Regions from separate parts of the Homo sapiens genome. Here region 1 is linked to region 2. The links are contacts of gene promoters, found by promoter capture Hi-C in blood cells and fetal thymus (Javierre and others, 2016). All regions are on one chromosome and are shown on one strand. Each heading gives the region's core, a stretch centred on a gene start or on the middle of the fragment in contact. The rest is flanking DNA. Distances are from core to core; before and after follow the strand shown.

Region 1 (5,546 bases), core at 1,915-4,414, 52 kb after region 2:
ACATTATCGTATACATTTTCTGTGCAAAGCTACATAGTCATTATAAAGAATGAGGTATAGCTGTGTGTTCAGATGTGGGATGATCTCTGAGATGTGTCACTATGAAGTGGAGAAAGCAAGTCACAGAACTGATAGGAGAGCCGGCTTCCTTTTGTGTTTAAAAAAAAGAAAGTGTGTGTTCATATATGTAAAGATCCATGTATAAATCCATGCAGCAATGGAGAGTACCCGCCAAAGAACAGGGAAAGGGCCCACTCATGTTTTAAATTGTGTATTTTTGGATGTTTGAATCTTTTACAATCTGAATATTATCTATATGCTATTTATACAATTCAAATTTAAATAAGAAAAAGAATAAGAATTTTCTCTGTTATTGTCCTTTTACTCTTAAGAATATAAAACAATACTTATGTATTTGCAATGAAAACTGGGGATTTAGAGAGAGTGAAGTCGCCCGAGTATGTCTCCTGACAAAAGGCATCTCTCGATACTGGCTCACATGTCCAGATAGGTCAAGCTACCTTTTGGAAGCCCAGTTCTCTTCAGCAATTTCTTCCATTTTGGTGGGTACTTTCTAACGCGCTTCCCAACCCTGGGCCATAGCTAAGGGCCCTTCTGTTTCCCCGCACAGGCTGGCTGTTGGCAGCCTTTGCTCAAAGGCAGACTGACGTCCTAATCAGAGTGCTTTGCCGGTAGCACTGGCATTTCAGAAACACTGACAACCGCGGCGGAAGCAGCAGATAAACAGCATATCACCCGCTAGAGTGGGCCTTGCTGTTTCTCAGATTAAATGGAAACATATGCCCAATTGTGAATTTTAAACAGCGTTATCAGACTGTTTGACAGCTCATCCAGTAATATAATAAGGTTCCACTGAGAAGGTGGAAGCTGTAATTCAAATTTCAGAATTTCCTTTTATATATCGGTAGATGAGAGGGTTGTGGGTATGGTTTCCATGTACCTGGGGCTGGTGTGTGTATGCACGCATTCAGATGCTTACATATGTGCGTATGTGACCGTCCTAATTTAAAATATTTTATGCTGTTTTCTTTGTCAACCACCAACATATTCCCCAACGATAAAATTCTTATGTCTAAGCCACATTTCCAAGGGGTCAGAGGGTGGGTGGGTATACAGGAGGGGGGATGGAAAACAAATTCTGGCTGGGGTTATGCTGTTTAACGATTTATAATTTCTATTCTAACTGTGTACCATCCATTCGCACAATAAGTATATTTTCTTTGTTAAGAAAAACTCAGAAAGAAGTACAGCAGATTACCAAATATAGAAAGCAACTTAAGTATTCATCTTTCATAAAACTTGTTTTGGTAAATGGTTTCATTCTGAGAATCTTTTATATTTTAATTTTAAAACAATTGAAAATAATTGATGTGTTTATGGCCTTCGTTTGTATTCTTGAAAGGAATATCTCGGATCATCAAAATGTTGCCAACTTCTACATCATGTGCCAGATGTGTGGGGCTGAGACAACTGTAAAGAAGTAGTGTGTGGTGTGTGAGGTGTATGAATGTGGTTTGTGTGTGTGATGTGTGTGTGTGGTGTGTGTGATGTGGTGTGTGGGGTGTGTGGCGTGGTGTGTGTGCTGTGTGTATGGTGTGGTGTGTGTGCTGTGTGATTCGTGGTGTGTGTGCTGTGGTTCATAGTGTTTGTGTGTGGGTATGTGATTGTGTGTGGTGTGTGAATGTGTGGTGTGTGTGTACGATGTGTGTTGTGTGGTGTGTGTGTGCTGTGGTGTGTGGTGTGTGTGTGGTGTGGTGTGTGTGGTGTGTGTATGATGTGTGTGTGTGCTGTGCATGGTGTGTGTGTGGTGTGTGGCATATGCGTATGATGTGTGTGGTGTGAGTGTATGATGTGTATGTGGTGTGTGGGGTGTGTGTGGCGTGTGCATGGTGTGTGTGGTGTGTGAGTGTGCGGTGTGGCATGTGTGGTTTGTGTATGTGGTGTGGGGTGTGTGTGGTGTGTGTGTGATGTGTGTGTGTATGATGTGTGTGTGTGTGTTGTATGGTGTGTGTATGATGTGTGTGTGGTATGGTGTGTGTGCAGTGTGTGTGGTATGTGTGTGTGGTGTGTGTGGTGTGTGGTGTGTATATGATGTATGTGTGTGTGTATGGTGTGAGTGTGTGACATAAGCATGGCAAAGGGCAGGATTACACCGAAAGCCAAAGCAAGAACCTTCTTTTTTTCCATCTTTCCTTTCTTTTCTTTTCTTTCCTTTTCCCCTTTCTTTTCTCTTCTGATTACTTCAGTCTTCTCTTCCTCATTTTCCCTTTTATTCTATACTTCCCTTTAAAAATGTTTCATAACTTTAAAAAAATTGACATATCATAGTTCGTACTTGGGGGGTACACGTGATGTTTTGATACCTATATACAATGTGTAGTGATCAAATCATGGCAATTGGGTTACCTATCACCTCAAACATTTTTCTTTCCCCTGTGTTGGGAACGTTACAATTCTTTCTCTTCTAGCTACTTTTAAATCTACAATAAATTATTGTTAACTATAATTTCCCTACTGAACTATCAAATACTAAAACTTATTCTTCCATGTAACTGTATTTTTGTACCCATTAACCAACTTCTCTTTCCCCCTTTTCCTCCTTCCCTCCCCAGCCTCTGGTAAGCACTATTCTACTCTCTACCGCCATGAGATCTATTTTTTTTTAGCTACCACATAGGCATGAGAACATGTGATATTTGTTTTTGTGTGCCTGGCTTATTTCACTTAACATAATGACCTCCAGTTCCATCCATGTTTCTGCAAATGACAGGGCTTCACTCTTTTTATTGCTGAATAATATTCCATTGTGTATACAAACTACATATTCTTTATCCATTGATGCACACTTAGGTAGAGTCCGTATCTTGACTGTTGTGAATAGTGCTCTAATAAACATGGGAGTGCAGTATATCTTCAATATAATGATTTCCTTTCTTTTGGATATATACCCAGCGGCGGTATTTTTGGATCATATGGCAGTTCTATTTTTAGTTTTTTGAGGATCTCCATAATATTTTTCGTATGGCTGTACTACTTTGCATTTCTACAACAGTATACAAGAATTCCCCTTTCTCTGCATTCTTTCCAGGATTTGTTTTATTTTATTTTATTTATTTTATTTTTGAGATGGAGTCTCGTTCTGTCACCCAGGCTGGAGTGCAATGGCATGGTCTTGGCTCACTGCAACCTCCACCTCCTGGGTTCAAGCGATTCTCATGCCTCAGCCTCCTGAGTAGCTGGGATTACAGGTGTGTGCCATCATGCCCAGCTAATTTTTGTATTTTTACTAGAGATAGGGTTTCGCCATATTGGGCAGGCTGGTGTGGAACTCCTGACCTCAAGTGATCAGCCTGCCTCAGCCTCCCCAAGTGCTGGGATTACAGGTGTGAGCCACTGTGCCCTCCGGGATTTATTATTTTGTATCTTCTTGATAATAATCAATCTAACTGGAGTGAGATGATATCTCATTGTGGTTTTGATTTGCATTTCCCTGAAGATTAGTGATGTTGAGTTTTTTTTTTTTTTTGCTTAACTTTCGGCCATTTGTATATTTTCTTTTGAGAACTGGCTGTTCAGGTTTTTTGCCCATTAAAAAAAACTAGGAATGGGGTCAACTGGGGTGTTGCCCAGGCCAGCTTCAAACTCCTGGGCTCAATCCTCTTGCCTCAGCCACCTGAGTAGTTGGGACTATAGGCATGTGCCTCTGTGCCTGTGTCCGTTTTAAGATCAGATTATTTGCTGTTGTTTGTTTTATTGCTCTTGAGTTGTTTGAGTTCCTTATATATTCTGGTTGTTAATTCCTTATCGGATGGTGCTATAGTTCGGATATCTGACCTTCCAAACCTTCTATTGAAATTTGATCCCCAACAATGGAGGTGGGGCCTAATGGGAGGTGTTTGGGTCATGGGGGCAGATCCCTCATGAATGACTTGGTGCCATCCTTGTGGTAATGAGCGAGTTATCCCTCTATTAGTTCCAAAGAGCTGATTGTTTAGAGTCTGGTGGTACCTTTCACCCCTCTCTCTTCCCTGCTGTCACACCGTGTGGTCTGTGTACACACCTGCTCTCCTTCACCTTCCACCATGAGTGGAAGCAGCCTGAAGCCCTCACCAGAAGCAGAAGCTGGTGCCAGGATTCTTGTACAGCCTGCAGAACAGTGAGCTAAATAAACCTCTTTTCTTTATAAGTCACCTAGTCTCAGGTATTCCTTTAAAGCAACACAAACTGAGACAGATGGATAGTTTGCAAATATTTTCTCCCATGCTGTAGGTGGTCTTTTCACTTCATTAATTGTTCTCTTTGCTGTGCAGAAGTTTTTGGCTTGATACAATCACATTTGTCTGTTTTCGCTTTTGTTACTGATGCTTTTGAAGTCTAACCCCCAAAAATCTTTCCCCAGATCAAAGTTTTTTTTTTTTTTTTTCTAGTAGTTTCATAGTATCAGGTCTTACCTCTAAGTCCTTAATCCATTTGGAGTTGACTTTTGTATAGGGTGAAAGATGGGGATTTATCTCACTTTTTCACATCCACTATACTTATCTTCCCTCCTATCTTTTTTGTATACATGGTTATAGGATTTTCACCAGTGTTTTATTATGTTTTTAGAAAACATGTTTTGCAGAAGAGAAACTCTTATGAATTTTCTGTTGTGCTTCAAATCGTAATCATTCAAGGAATATATCCCAAATAGCTCTGATAGGAAACACTATTGAACAATTAGTAAGATATGTTCATAAGAATCATTATGAGGAATAAAAACAACTAAGGTTCTTAAAAAGAAAAAAATACTTCCAACTGTAAAAATATCATTTTTTATTAGAATGATCTTCATTTACTTCAACACAAATAAATTTAAAGCAGCATTAGAAAATGTAGCATTTAATAAAGTCTTTATACATCCTGTTCTCAACTGACATTTTTTCCTTAAGAAATACCTGAATTTGGTTGTGACATTAAATTCGCAAAGTTTGGCTCTGTATTTTTAGTGCCTTATTTGTGATTTTGTTGTTTTAAAATAAAAGCTATTCAGTGTGAATAAATTTGAATTGGCAAGCAGAATGGCCTACTACCAAACATTCAGTAACCAGATTCAATAACCACATGCCAAGCCAGAACATTGGAAAAATCCTCAAGTTAATTAAAACAAAGGCTTTAATATTTCTTAGCATTTGCAGCTGTTCTATCCAGAGAGGGCAGGCGCCTGCTGGGTTGTGTTAGCCTGGGATTAGTAGTTCAGGAAAAAGCAAAAGCAAAGTGAGCTCGTTTATTAAGTTTTCTGATGTTCAGTTTCTTCTGTGAAATGGGTATAATAGTAATAGTACTTACCTTGTAGGTATTCATATTATTATAAAATAAGAAATTGGGTATATGAAAAATTGAGTATGGTATATATTAGTTATTATTCAGTGCTCAGAGGGACAGAGGTCATTGTTCTCAAAGGTTTTGCTCTAAGTTTCATTTTTGCTTTTCATTTATGGTTTGACTGCAGCAGACATCTGTATCCATTGTCTTGATGAGGTCTTAAT
Region 2 (5,467 bases), core at 1,779-4,278:
CCAAAATCACAAATAAGCACCCTCTACAACCATTCCATACTGGAAGACCTTCCATCCACATCCTTCTTTTTCTTCTTCCCATTAGGATCACCCTGCAATGGCTGACCAAGTCAGAGGCATTGAAGTGAGTCAGGATTAAATCCTCAACCCTCTTATACTTGCCTAAAAAGTGGTCCCCAACCTTTTTGGCACCAGGGATGGGCTTCCTGGAAGACAATTTTTCCACGGGTGGTGGAGAGGGGAAGGGTAGATGGTTTAGGGATGATTCAAGTGCATTACATTTATTGTGCACTTTGTTTCTATTATTATATTATAATATGTCATGAAATAATTATACAACTCACCACAATGAAGAATCAGTGGAAGACCTGAGCTTGTTTTCCTGAAACTAGACAGTCCCATCTGGGTGTGATGGGAGACAATGACAGATCATCAGGCATTAGATTCTCGTAAGTAGAGCGCAAGGTAGATCCCTCATATGCACAGTTCACAGTAGGGTTTCTGATCCTAGGAGAATCTAGGATTCTGCCACTGATCTGACAGGAGGCGGAGCTCAGGTGGTAATGCAAGCTATGGGGAACAGCTGTAAATACAGATGAAGTTTCGCTCGCTTGCCTGCCCGCTGCTCACTTCCTGCTGTGCAGCCTGTTCCTTACAGGTCATGGACTGGTGCTGGTCCATGGCCTGGCGGTTGGGGACCCATGCTATATAGGACTTAGCTCTGGTTAAGGCACCCTAAGTGCAGCTACTCCATGCCTTCTCACAGTATACTCTGTTCTATCAGTATAGACAGTGTCTCCTGCTATCTTGCCAGTAAGTTTTTTCTTATCAATGACCAAAGCTGCTAAACCAAATAGAGAATGTGGGTGATCTTTTTCCTTCTCCTTTGCTTCCAACGTCCAGTTGAGTCTCCCCATTTGGTGGGGGTGGACATTTAAGTTAATTTCTTTCTTCTTAGTTGCAACTCGGATATTTAGTTTGAGCCTGAGTCACCCAGTACATCATCTGGCTTATTCCAAGAGCTAAAACAACTGCTAAAATCTTTCCAATATCTGCTTGGCCAATTCACTCCACTTCTCTGAAGTTAATGTTATTACCAACCATAAAATCAAACTCTGTTCAGTAAAGATTCAAATTTTGCTAATATGCATGAAAGTGCTTGACAAACTCTAAGTTATGCTGCAATTTGTCCTCCACCCTCATTCACCCATTCATCCCTAACTCCATCCTAGCTCAACTCCATTCAAATCTTGCCCATATAATGTTTACTCTCTCTCTTTTTTTTTTTTTTTTGAGACAGGGTCTCCCTGTGTCACCAAGGCTGGAGTGCAGTGGCGCCATCTCAGCTCACTGCAGCCTTGATCTCCCAAGCTCAAGTGATCCTCCCACCTCAGCCTCCCAAGTAGCTGGGACTAAAGGTGCGTGCCACTAGGCCTGGCTAATATTTTGTATTTTTTGTAGAGATGGGGTTTCACCATGTTGCCCAGGATGGTCTCAAACACCTGGGCTTAAGCGATTTGTCTACCTCAGCCTCTCAAAGTGCTGGGACTACAGGCATGAGCCACTGCGAATGGCCTATCTTTCAAAACATTATGAATGCTTCCTTCCCTCTTTTGGAAATTCCACCTCTTTAAACATGACATGTAACAGTTTGCTACTCTCTAGAAGTAGTGCTTAGTGACAGGCATCACAGAGTACAGAGTAGTAATAAAGAGCCAGGGTTCTGGAGCCAGACTGCCTGAATTCCCGTCCTGTCTACACTACTTATTAGCTGTGTAACTTTGGGTAAATTACTTATTTCTGTTTCAGTTGCCTTAGCTGTAAGAAGAGAGTTACTGCCTGTAGTCACCTCAAAGTGTCATTATGTGAATTGCATAGGTTAATATACGCAAACCACTTCAATCATTGTCTAGTACTATAAATATTTGCCATTTTCTTGATACTGTTCCCCGTTTCAATAGCTTTCCATTGCTCACAAAATAAAGGAAAATATCTTTAATCTGGCCTCAAATTCCCTGCACGTTGTGACCATTGCCTACTCTGCAACCCCATTTCTTAGTACTTGCCTTCCAGACATACTGAATTGTCTCTAATTCTTGGAAATTTCCATGGTTTTCTTTTTCTTTCTTGCCTCTCAGACTTCTGAACTCAGTTTCTCCTAGTTTAGGACGCTGTGCCTTCCACCCTCCCAGTAACCTAGAGACTACCCTGCGAGACTCACCCTCTTCTCCCTGGAAGAAGAGGGAGTTCTGCCAGCAGACTGTCTTTGGACTTGGACTGAGTACTTCTCTGGGTCTCCAGCCTACTGGCCCACCCTGCAGATTTTAGACTTGCATCTCCACAGTCGTGTGATCCAGTTTTAAAAATACCCCCTCTCTCCATACACATATATACACATATACATCTTGTTGATTCTGTTTCTCTGAAGAACTCTACTAAAAGAAGTATTATCAAAATTAAAAAGGAGCTTGAACTCATGTAGCCTAATGCTCTTCTTTTTAAAGATGAGGAAAAGAGATATTCAGAGAAAGAAGTGAATTTACCTAAATTACCCAGCTAAGGAGTTACACTTCCCATATATCATATTTATTGCATATATAAGTAAGCAACAACTTCTCGAGAAGCTCGGTGAGTCCCCAAGGTCCCCAGCGCTTCTACCCTCACTGCACTGGGTAAGCTGTACCCTGACTGCTTCTGTGTACTCAAGCTCCCATCCGCCCGCGGGCCTCCTGAGAGAGTCGGCCTAATTCGTAAGCTGGTTCCCAGTAAACAGTGCAGAGCAGGCGCTAAGTGAATGAATGAGCACGAGAGCTGGAAGCCCTCTGAGGCCTCTCTGGTGTCCCTTGTCCGCCCGCCGCCTCGGCCCCGGCCAGGTTGGAAGGACCGGGTGCCCCTACCGCCCGGAGTGGCGCTCTCAGCGTCCCCGCACCTTCATGCGCAGTAGATTCTTGGACAACCTTGTCTTTCGCTCGGCCGCCATGGTAGCTTCCGCCCAGCGCCGCACTCCGGCCGCGAGCCTCACCGCACATGCGCGGAGCCGCGTGCGCAGCTGCGTCCCTCGCGTAGTGCGCGCCGCCCCGCCCCGCCCCTCCCCTGTGTCTTGCGCGCGGGCGCGGCCACTCAGCGGGCGCTCTGCTGACTGAGAGGCTCGGGTAAGCTCGCGGGGTGGCGGGCGCGGGGATGAGCGCGGCAGACCGCAAAAAAGCCGAAGTCAGAGGACGACCCAGAACTTGGCTTCCCCGAGCCGCGGGTCGCCTTCCCGGGACGTCGGCCTGGCCCCCTCGGAGGCCCATCCTCCCTCGGGGACTCCCTTCCTCAGGGACCCCCTCCACACTCAGTAGTCCTCGCCAGCCTCAGAGAGGTTTCCGCCACGCCTGCCACCCGCCTGGGCCGTGTTACCCACGTGTTTTGTCTTCATAACGTGGGTGGCGGGCTCCCTTTGTTCTGGGTCGCTTTGCAGGGTCCAGGTCGTTTTCTCTTCACCAGGACCCCACGAGTTGCTGCTTTCCTCACAGCAGCCCGGAGTCCCGGGGGAGCGCGGCGGGGGCCGCCCCAGGCAGGCTGGCTTCATTCCCAGGCTGCTGCCGATGCGTGTCTGGCCGAGTGATCTCTGCTAAACAGAAGAATCTCAAGAAATGGCAAGGGATGGAGGCAGGGATGGGTGCCAAAGACACATGAATGAGAACAAAGCCTGGTTTTGATCCAAAGAATTGAAAAGACCATAGCGAGGGGCAACATAGGGAGACCCCACCTCTACAAAAAAAAAAAAAAAAAAAAAAAAAAAAAAAATATATATATATATATATATATATATACACAAAAAATATACAAAATATACATACAAAAAATATATACAAAATATACAAAAAATGTACAAAAGATACAACAAAAATAGCTGGGTGTGGTGGCACGGATCTGTGGTCTCCACTACTTGGGAGGCTGAGGCTGGAGAATCACTGGAACCCGGGACGTCGAGGCTGCAGTGAGCTGACATCCCGCCACTGGACTCCAGTCTGGGCTACAGAGTGAGGCTTTGTCTCAAAAACAAAACAACAAAACAAAAAAGAATTTAAAAAACCACTGAAAATAGGGTAGCGTTCCTACCCTGGTGTTTAATGCTCTGGGTACCACCTAAACACGTTTTCGAAAACCATTCCCAGGTCCGACGCTTTGGAACACCCTCAAGCTAATAGCATCTCGGCTGATACCATGAGTTCTACGTCAGATTGTTGACCTGGTCACCTTAGGGCTAATTAGTTCACTTAATCCCCATAAGAACCGGAAAGAAGGTATTGTCATCGTGTTGTTAAGGATTCTGAGACACAGAGTGGGTAACGCACTTGGTGTTCACACAGCTAATCCATGTTAGAGCTGAAATTCAAACACCGATTTGGATGTTAAAAGCCCTTTAGGTTTTCCCAGGGGTAAATAAAATCATTGTAATGTACCAAGTGGCTACAGAATCTCATTCACTTGTGACTGTGTGTGAGATGCCGGGGGTATAATAGCGTGTAAAAACACATATCCCCACCTTTCCTGAAGCTGATATTCTGGACGTAAGTAAGTGGCGACTGCTATGAAAGAGAGAAAACAGTGATGTGACAGAGTAACGCTTAGGGTTACTTTAGACCAGGTGGTTTGGAACGGCCCTTGTCAGATGATGGTGCTAAGGCTTGAAAGTTGAGAAAAACGTGTTTTATGAAGAGTTGGAGGTAGAGTGTGCTCAGAAGACAGCATCAACTGTAAAGGTCCTCAGATATGAACAAGACAAAGTCCGTGTTAAAAGTTTTACAAGTGGAAACAGTAGAGGTTAATCATAAGCCACATTGCATCCCCCAAAATTCATATGTTGAAGTTCCAACTCCCAGTGCCTCAGAATGTGAATGTATTTGGAGACAGTCCTTTTTAAAGAGGTGATTAAAACAAGACCCTTAGGGTGAGCCCTAATCCAGTCTGACTGATGTCGTCATAAGAAGAGGAAATTTGGACACAGACACCAAGGTTGTGTTTGCATAAAGGAAAGACTATCTGAAAGCCAAAAAAATAAAAAAAATTTAAAAAATCTCTCAGGAGAAACCAAACCTGCCAACACCTTGATCTTAGACCTCTAGCCTCCAGCACTGTGAGAAAATCACAACCAGTCTGTATAGGGCACCCAGTGTGTAGTGTTTTCTTATAGTAACCGTAGCAGACTAATATACCATACAATTAGCTGTAGATGACAGTTGTGATGAGAGCCCGGTAAGGAAAGTTTGAGGGTCATGAAAGGGTACAACGAGGGTACCTAAACCATTCTGGCCTGGAAATGAGGACTCTCCTAAACGTAGAGAGGAGTTAATCAGGGAAAAGGCCCACCAATCATTCACATTGTTATGCTGCTTTTACCACCATAGGACTCTTCATCTTGCAAAATGAAAACTCTTGTTCCCATTAAACACTAATTCCTCAGGTCCTCACGACTACTTTC

What was found. The method cuts DNA at HindIII sites, captures the fragments that hold promoters and counts their contacts. A CHiCAGO score of 5 or more calls a contact.
Region 1: a fragment that was not itself captured here is called in contact with the fragment with the promoter of MPHOSPH6 in region 2 in 1 of 17 cell types (monocytes); the score reaches 6.1 in monocytes.

What each region holds. Positions count from the first base shown.
Region 1 is chr16:82,218,846-82,224,391 of GRCh38, forward strand. No RefSeq gene overlaps it. Among named protein-coding and RNA genes, the nearest start is that of MPHOSPH6, 51 kb to the left of the region's middle. The HindIII fragment of the contact is 6,919 bases long and covers 1-5,546 here.
Region 2 is chr16:82,167,196-82,172,662 of GRCh38, forward strand. It overlaps MPHOSPH6 (M-phase phosphoprotein 6), which reads right to left and starts at 3,029. Exons shown (of 5, transcript NM_005792.2): 1 at 2,930-3,029. The coding sequence starts at 2,980. RefSeq lists an enhancer at 2,886-3,030, a cis regulatory region at 2,958 and a silencer at 3,005-3,164. The HindIII fragment of the contact is 21,548 bases long and covers 1-5,467 here.